2 separate regions of the Homo sapiens genome follow, and region 1 is linked to region 2. Evidence: promoter capture Hi-C in human tissues and cell types (Jung and others, 2019). All regions are on one chromosome and are shown on one strand. The core of a region is centred on a gene start or on the middle of the fragment in contact, and the rest is flanking DNA. Distances in the headings are between cores, read along the strand shown. Region 1 overlaps ABHD8 (abhydrolase domain containing 8). Region 2 holds the start of F2RL3 (F2R like thrombin or trypsin receptor 3).

Evidence for each region. Contacts are between HindIII fragments. The study calls those that stand out against the background at their distance.
Region 1: a contact is called between a fragment that was not itself captured here and the fragment with the promoter of F2RL3 in region 2, in 1 of the 25 tissues and cell types used here (spleen).

The regions. Positions count from the first base shown.
Region 1 is chr19:17,298,255-17,302,896 of GRCh38, reverse strand. It overlaps ABHD8 (abhydrolase domain containing 8), which reads left to right. Exons shown (of 5, transcript NM_024527.5): 2 at 1,273-2,041. The coding sequence starts at 1,281. It also overlaps a transcript of MRPL34 not described here. Among named protein-coding and RNA genes, the nearest start is that of ABHD8, 2.8 kb to the left of the region's middle. RefSeq lists a silencer at 283-577 and enhancers at 935-1,435, 1,436-1,936. The HindIII fragment of the contact is 7,858 bases long and covers 1-4,642 here.
Region 2 is chr19:16,886,559-16,890,876 of GRCh38, reverse strand. It overlaps F2RL3 (F2R like thrombin or trypsin receptor 3), which reads right to left and starts at 1,878. Exons shown (of 2, transcript NM_003950.4): 1 at 1,579-1,878; 2 at 1-1,304. The coding sequence starts at 1,687. The coding sequence ends at 256. RefSeq lists enhancers at 604-1,203, 4,294-4,318. The HindIII fragment of the contact is 19,143 bases long and covers 1-4,318 here.

The DNA of each region.
Region 1 (4,642 bases), core at 859-3,358, 410 kb before region 2:
AGCTGGTCCCATCTCCAGGCCCTAGACACCTCGACAATGGGGGTGCACTGCTCGGGTATCCCCCCCTTAGGTTATGTAACCGCCTGTGGTTGCCATGGACACGGGGGCGGGGGTGGCCCAAGGAGTGGGATGGAGGCTTGGAGGCCCCCAGCCAGGGCCCTGCCTCTCCCATCCTCTTCGCCACCTCTGGGGACTTGTATAGCAGATCCCCAGAATCCAGGGTGCCAAGGAGGAAGTTCAGAGTCTAGCTTCCTCTCAGAGTGTCTGGGCCTCAGCTTGGCCCTCTATGAAACAGACCCCGGCTCACCCCGGTCTAGGGGAGCTGAGCAAGGCTTTCTGTGGCTCAGTCCCCATCCCCCTCTCCTAGGGCCTCACCTTTCAGGAGTCAAATTCAGAGCCAGGAGCCTCACTGGGGGCTCACCAAAGATTTGCATATTTTAGATGCCTTAGGAGGCCCTGGGGATATGTGAGTTAGTGAGTGCATACCTGGATGAGTTAGTGAGTTAGTGTATACCTGAATGAATGAGTTAGTGTATACCTGAATGGATGAGTTAGTGTATACCTGAATGAATGAGTTAGGAGGCCATAAATGGTATAAACTCCAGCTGGGGGGAGGGGGTGTCTTCCGGCTGGTCCACATTTGCCACAATGTCCCCTTCTCCAGGAACATCCCCACACAAGACGCCACCACCTTCCCTGTGGACACCCTGTGGGGTAAGCCATAGCCAAGTCTTTCTCTCTGAGGATAGACTAGGGTGACCCAGGAGGGTAACTACCACAAAGGCACTGCTCAGACAAAACATGTCAGTGCACGGTGGCTCACACCTATAATCCCAGCACTTTGGGAGGCCGAAGCAGGAGGAAAATTTGAGGTCAGGAGTTCAAGACCAGCCTGGCCAACATGGTGAAACCCCATCTCTACAAAAAATACAAAAATTAGCTAGACATGGTGGCACCTGCCTATAATCCCAGCTACTCAGGAGGCTGAGGCAAGAGAATCGCTTGAACCCAGGAGGGGGAGGTTGCAGTAAGCCGAAATCCGGCCACTGCCCTCCAGCCTGGATGACAAAGCGAGACTGTCTCAAAAACACACACACACACACACACACACACACACACAAACAAAAAAATCTCAGTGCCGTGGCTCACTTGATCTGGCGCTCCCCAAACTGGAGTCTAAAACAGTTCTCCCAAGGCTCAGGGAGTGCCTGCTGCACGGTGCAGGGTTCTCATTGAGACAGCACCTGAACTGGCTGCTGTCCTCACTCACAGGACACACCATGCTGACCGGGGTGACCGACGGTATCTTCTGTTGCCTGCTGGGCACGCCCCCCAACGCCGTGGGGCCACTGGAGAGCGTCGAGTCCAGCGATGGCTACACCTTTGTAGAGGTCAAGCCCGGCCGCGTGCTGCGGGTGAAGCATGCAGGACCCGCCCCAGCCGCTGCCCCACCTCCACCATCATCCGCATCCTCGGATGCAGCCCAGGGGGACCTCTCCGGCTTGGTCCGCTGTCAGCGCCGGATCACCGTGTACCGCAATGGGCGGTTGCTGGTGGAAAACCTGGGCCGAGCCCCTCGAGCCGACCTCCTACACGGGCAGAATGGCTCTGGGGAGCCGCCGGCCGCCCTGGAGGTGGAGCTGGCAGATCCGGCGGGCAGCGATGGCCGCTTGGCCCCCGGCAGCGCAGGCAGCGGCAGCGGCAGTGGCAGTGGTGGGCGGCGGCGGCGAGCCAGGCGCCCCAAGAGGACCATCCATATTGACTGTGAGAAGCGCATCACTAGCTGCAAAGGCGCCCAGGCCGACGTGGTGCTCTTTTTCATCCATGGTGTCGGCGGTTCCCTGGCCATCTGGAAGGAGCAGCTGGACTTCTTTGTGCGCCTAGGCTATGAGGTGGTGGCTCCTGACCTGGCCGGCCACGGGGCCAGCTCTGCGCCCCAGGTGGCCGCAGCCTACACCTTCTATGCGCTGGCTGAGGACATGCGAGCAATCTTCAAGCGCTATGCCAAGAAGCGAAATGTGCTCATTGGCCATTCCTACGGGTAAGTGAACCCTGGCATGTGGGGTGGGGGTGAGGGATGGGGTCAGCAGGGACTACAGTCACAAAATACTGAGTTTTTGGCTGAGCCCCGTGGCTCACGCCTGTAATCCCAGCACTTTGGGAGGCCGAGGCAGGCGGATCACCTGAGGTTGGGAGTTCGGGAACAGTCTGGCCAAGGTGGTGAAACCCCGTCTCTACCAAAAATACAAAAATTAGCCAGACGTGGTGGCACGCGCCTGTAGTCCCAGCTACTCGGGAGGCTGAGGCAGAGGAATCACTTGAACCGAGGAGGTGGAGGTTGCAGTGAGCCGAGATTGTGTCACTGCACTCCAGCCTGGGCGACAGAGGGAGACTCTGAGATGCCACTGACACCTGTAATCCCAGTGCTTTCGGGGGCCAAGGCGGGAGGATATCTTGAGGCAAGGAGTTTGAGACCAGCCTGGGCAACATAGGGAGAACCCCCTAGCTCTACAAAAAGTACAAACATTAGCTAGGTGAGGAGGTGCACGCATATAGTTCCACCTACTTAAGGGCTGAGGCAGGAGATTGCTTGAGTCTGGGAGGTCGAGGCTGCAGTGAACTGTGATCACACCACTGCACTCCAGCCTGGGCAGCATGGCAAGAACCTGTCGCTCTTTAAAAAAGAAAAAAAAATCCGGGCGCGGTGGCTCACGCCTGTAATCCCAGCACTTTGGGAGGCTGAGGCGGGCGGATCACGAGGTCAGAAGATTGAGACCATCCTGGCTAACACGGTGAAACCCTGTCTCTACTAAAAATACAAAAAATTAGCTGGGTGTGGTGGTGGGCACCTATAGTCCCAGCTACTCGGGAGGCTGAGGCAGGAGAATGGCATGAGCACGGGAGACGGAGCTTGCAGTGAGCCAAGATCATATTGTGCCACTGCACTCCAGCCTGGGCGACAGAAGGAGACTCCGTCATGAAAAAAAAAAAAGGGGCCACCACGCGCGGTGGTGCACATTTGTAATCCCAGCACTTTGTGGATGGATCATTGGAGATGAGTTTGGACAACATGGCAAAACCTTATCTCCTAAAACAAAACAAAGCAAACAAAAATCCTAATTTTTCTCCTTGAAAAAAATCCCATTTTTCAATTTAATTTTTACATTTTTAAAATTTTTTTTTCTTTTAAATAGAGATGGCATCTCACTATGTTGCCCAAGATGTTCTTTAACTACTGGGCTCAAGTGATCCTTGCACCTCAGCCTCCCAAAGTGCTAGGACTACAGGTGTGAGTCATTGTGCTCAGCCTTAATTTTTTTTTTTTTTTTTTTTTTTGAGATGGAGTCTCACTCTGTCCCCCAGGCTGGAGTGCAGTGGCGTGATCCTGGCTCACTGCAAGCTCCACCTCCCAGGTTCATGCCATTCTCCTGCCTCAGCCTCCCTAGTAGCTGGGACTACAGGCACCCGCTACCATGCCTGGCTAATTTTTTGTCTTTTTAGTACAGACGGGGTTTCACCGTGTTAGCCAGGATGGTCTCGATCTCCTGACCTCGTGATTCGCCCTCCTCGGCCTCCCAAAGCGCTGGGATTACAGGCGTGAGCCAACGCACCAGGCCAATTTTCAAGTTCAAAAAAAAATTATATAGAGAATGGGGGGGGGGTCTCATTATGTTGCCCAGGCTGGTCTTGAACTCCTGGGCTCAAGCCATCCTCCCTCCTTGGCCTCCCGATGTGGTGGGGTAACAGGCATGAGCCGCTATACCAGGCTGAAAACTCCCATTAGCATATGTAATCAGACAGGGATTTCCGTCATCACTGATATTGTTTCACATTGTTCTAAAGCAGTGTTGCTCAGGCCAGGTGCAGTGGCTTACGCCTGTAATCCTAGCACTTTAGGAAGCCAAAGCAGGCAGATCACTTGAGGTCAGGAGTTCAACACCAGTTTGGCCAACATGGTGAAACCCCATCTCTACTAAAAGTACAAAAAATTAACCAGGCATGATGGTGTGTGCCTGTAATCCCAGCTACTCGGGGGTGTGAGGCAGGAGAATCACTTGAACCTGGGAGGCAGAGGTTGCAGTGAGCCAAGATCACACCACTGCACTCCAGCCTGAGCAACAGAGTGAGACTCTGCCCAAAAAAAAAAAAAAAAAAAAAAAAGCAGTGTTGTTCAATCCCAGCACTATCGTGTTTGGCCAGGTTATTTTTTTTCTGTGAGGGGCTATAGGATGTTTAGTAGCATCCCTGGCTTCTGCCCACTGGATGCAACTACACAATCTAGTGTTGATCATGACAGTCAAAAATGTCTTCAGTAGTTGCCAAGCGTGCCCTGGTGGGCAGAATTACCCCCAGCTGAGAACCACTGCCTTAGACTAAGTTAAAAAATCAACTGCCCTGGAGAACACTGTGCATTCAGGAAGCGCTCATCGGAATCCTGTAAATTCTAGGCATTTACAAAGGCATGGGTTACTGTAATTCACTCCTGCTTAAAGGGCAGGTAATACAACCTAAAACTTACCAAGAACCCCTCCATGGAAGGCTTGGTCCCCAGGGCTTGACCACTACCAAGTGGCCTCATTCTCTCCTTTATCCAGGAAGAAAGGCAAGATTGAACAGCCAGGCAAGTTGAGCACCACTGTTT
Region 2 (4,318 bases), core at 629-3,128:
GCTCAAGTGATCCATCCGCCTTGGCCTCTTAAAGTGCTGGGATTACAGGCGTGAGCCACCAGGCCTGGCCTCTCCTTATCTTATGAGGACACCACCCACACTGGATGTAAGGCCCACCCTTCTCCAAAGTGACCTCCGCTAGTGACAGTTGTAACAACCCTATTTCCAAATAAGGTCACATTCTGAGGTCCCAGGAAGGACGTGAAGTGGGGGAAGGGACCCTGTTCGACCCAGTACAGCCTTCCCCACTTTGTGTCACTGGAGCAAAGAGGAGTGGGTGCCCATGCCCCGGCTGCCCCCTTCCGCAGAGGCCTTGGAGGCCACGGTGTCCCCCGGCGACCGTTGGAAGAGCCCTGCCCGCACCTTGTCCCTGAACTCGGCCGACACGTAGTAGTAGATGAAGGGATCCACGCAGCTGTTGAGGGTGCTCAGCGCCAGGCTGGGCACGTAGGCACCATAGAGGTTGCCCCAGGCGCTGGGGCTCGGGTCCGAGTAATGCAGCAGCAGCAGCAGGTTGCTGGGCACGAAGAAGGCCACGGCGGAGGCCAGCACCACTGCGGTCAGCCTCAGCGCGTGGCCGTAGCGCCGGCCGCTGGCCGCCAGCGTGTGCAGGGTGGCCCCGTAGCACAGCAGCATGGCCAGCAGGGGCAGGAAACAGCCCAACAGCGCCAGGCAGGTGAAGGCCGGTTGCCAGTGGGAGGCCTGTGCGTCCAGGGGCAGCGCGTCATGGCAGAGCACGCGATCGGAGCGCGCCAGCCGGAAGGTCTGCCGCTGCAGTGTCAGGGGCAGTGCCAGGGCGGCCGCCATGAGCCAAGCAGCCATGCAGAGTCCAAGGGCCAGGCGCCGGCCACGCAGGGCGCGGGCCCGCAGCGGGTGCACCAGGGCCAGGTAGCGATCCAGGCTGACGGCGGCCAGCAGCAGCACTGAGCCATACATGTGACCATAGAGTGCGGCCGTGGCCAGGCGGCAGGCGGCCTCCCCGAAGGGCCAGCGCTGGCCACGCAGGTGGTAGGCGATCCGCGGGGGCAGCGCCAGGGCCAGCAGGAGGTCAGCAGCCGCGAGGTTCATCAGCAGCATGGTGGAGGGCAGCCGAGGTGCCTGCGTGGCCAGCACCCACAGCGCCAGCCCATTGGCCGGCAGCCCCACCACCAGGACCAGCCCATAGAGGGCGGGCACCAGCCTGGTGGGCACCCAGCCCAGAAGCAGTGCCCGTGAGCTGTCCGGGAGCTCCAGGGTGTCACTGTCATTGGCACAGACTTGGCCTGGGTAGCCGCGGGGGGCAGGCAGGATTGAGGGCGTGCTGTCTGGGAGAGAGAGGGGACCTCAGTCAGCCCCTGCCTCGGCAGGTGACGAGAAGCAGCAGGGAGGGAGGTGCTCAGAGCCTGGGGTCTGCCCTGGTGGGAAACAGCTGGACATGACACTCAAGGGAATAGCCCAGCCCTATGGGGTCAGAGACGGGATACAGAGTGGGCTGGGCTGAAGCCCGCAACTTCCCGGCCTCCCCCTCCCCAGCTCCGGGCCCCCAGCTCCATCTCTGATGTAACCCCATCTCTGCACCCCAAAGCCAGGACCACTCACCATCACCACCTCCGGTGCTCCCGCTCTCGTCGTAGACGCTGGGGGTCTGGGTGCCGCCAGACAGGCTGAACCCCAGCACCAGGGGCCACAGGAGCAGTCGCCCCCACATGACTGCACTCAGGCTGCTCTGGGCTGTGGCCTCAGGCTTCCTGCCTCGCCGGACCCTGAGCCCCAGCTTCTGGAGCCGAGGCGGACGAGCAGATCGCGCCGGTAGAGATAAACCAGGAAGGCTGCCCCTGCCCCCGCAGACCCACCAGGGCCGCTTGCCAGCCAGCCCGTGGGAGGACTGGAGTGTGGGTTATGGAGACCGGGCTGCCCCACGTGGCTATATCCAGTGTGGCGCCTCCCAGGGACCCAGGTGCCAGGCCAGCAAGATGCAGGGGGGGGGGTCCCAGCTGCAGCCAGCACCCCCGGTCCCTGACCAGCCCAGGAAGCATCTGCGGTTCAAGTGGCCACTTCCTGCCAGCCGCTCACATCTGCAGCCACTGTTCTCACGACAGCCCTGTCCTCACCCCAATCCCCACGCCCATCACGGGCTCTGGGCCTTTCCTGAAGTCACCCCCCGACTTCCTATCTCTGGTGAGCAGGATAAGAAGAGCCCTGCTAGGCCAGGCACGGTGGCTCACGGCTGTAATCCCAACATTTTGGGAGGCCAAGGCAGGCAAATCACCTGAGGTTGGGAGTTTGAGACCGGCCTGACCAACATGGAGAAACCCCATCTCTCATAAAAATACAAAAATTAGCTGGGCTTGGTGGCAGATGCCTGTGGTCCCAGCTACTCAGGAGGCTGAGGTGGGAGAATTGCTTGAACCCAGGAGGTGGAGGTTGCAGTGAGCCGAGATCTTGCCACTGCACTCCAGCCTGGGCAACAGAGCGAGACTCGGCAAAAAAAAAAAAAAAAACCAAGGATGGGCGCCTCCCAGAGGGTAATAGCGAGGGTCCCTTCAGACCCCCAGAGCAGCACGAGCCCAGCGTCAGGGACTCTGGCTGAACCTCGAGAGCCCCTCAGCATCCTCGGCTGACCCCATACTCACAAGGCACCCCTGTATGAGTGCCTCACTTCACTCTTGCCCAGGGGACACACGGGCATCTGTAGGGGAGACAGTGATGCTGGGGACAGCACCTGCCGAGGACCGGGGGGACTTCGGGGTGTGTGGCTCGCCTGCTCTGACCTCTGACCCTGAGTGAGGTGGCCAGGTTGAAGGGTCCCCAAGCCAGCCTCCAGGGGGCCTCCCTCCTCTAGCCCCAGCACATCCCCACTCCTGGGTACCATTGGATGGGGGCTCATCGGGCAGATGAAGAAACTGAAGCTCGGGGGGGTACCCCTTCCCTCTTCTGCACAAGGCCCCTCAGTGTTGTCCCTCCCTGCCTCAGAGAGGCCTCAACCCGTCGTGCCCTGGGGGAGTCTGGTATGGGTGGTTCTGGCCCCAGTGTGCTCAGCGCTGGGCTACAGGGGATGGGGGACAGGGCTTGGGGGGGTCTGGGAGCAGGAGGGCCTAGTTGGGAGCCATGAGGATTGGGGAAAATAAAATGAACTAGGGATGGGGGAGGGAGGGGTCCAATGTGGCCGTTTCCTGCCTGGGGGAGCCCTAATCTCATCACACACTTGAGCACTCGGGGATCAGCCAGGAAGTGACTGAGCAGAGTCTTGGACAGAGTCAACACCCAGCTCCAGGAGGAGACACTGAAGCCTGGAGAGAGAGTCTAGCTGGGGCAGGGTCTCAGAGGCCCTGCTCCCATTTCTGGGCAGTTTCCATGGCCACCAATGAGAAAATCAGCTTCACGTCAATGACTTGGGGAAAAAGGTGGCTGAGGACACCCTCAGCACACGGAAAACCCACGCCTGGGCTCCCCCCTCCACCGTCTTCTCTGTGAGCAGAGTGGGAAGCTGTGCAGGGGAGGCTGGGCACACCGGCAGTCCAGTGATGCTGGGGCAGGGTGGTTTGAAGATGATGCATCAAAATAGTGATGCACGACCGGGCGCAATGGCTCACGCCTGTAATCCCAGCACTTTGGGAGGCCAGGTGGGTGGATCACGAGGTCAAGAGATCGAGACCGTCCTGGCCAACATGGTGAAAACCCGTCTCTACTAAAAATACAAAAATTAGCCAGACATGGTGGCGCACGTCTGTAGTCCTAGCTCCTCAGGAGGCTGAGGCAGGAAAATCTCTTGAACCCAGGACGCAGGGGTTACAGTGAGCTGAGATCACACCACTGCACTCCAGCCTGGGCAACGGAGCGAGACTCCGACTCAAAAAAAAAAAAAAAAAAAAAAAAAAGCCAGGCACAGTGGCTCACACCTGTAATCCCAGCACTTTGGGAGGCAGAGGCGGGTGGATCACCTGAGGTTGGGAGTTCGAGACCAGCCTGACTAACATGGAGAAACCCCATCTCTAGTAAAAATACAAAATTAGCTAGGCATGGTGACATATGCCTGTAATCCCAGCTGCTCGGGAGGCGAGGCAGGAGAATCACTTGAACATGGGAGGCAAAGGTTGCAGTGAGCCGAGATTGCATCATTGCACTCCAGCCTCACTCCAGCCTGGGCAACAAGAGTGAAACGCGTCTCAAAAAAAAAAAAAAAACATAGTGACGCACATGCCCTTATACTCAAGGGTTCCATGTCTAGGAATTTCTGCCAGACACACGCACAGGAAGATGTCCTTGGGAGGATATCCACACAGCAGCACAAAGCAGGGAGGTGCCCGCCAACAGCCCCTCCCCGGGAACAACACGGCAG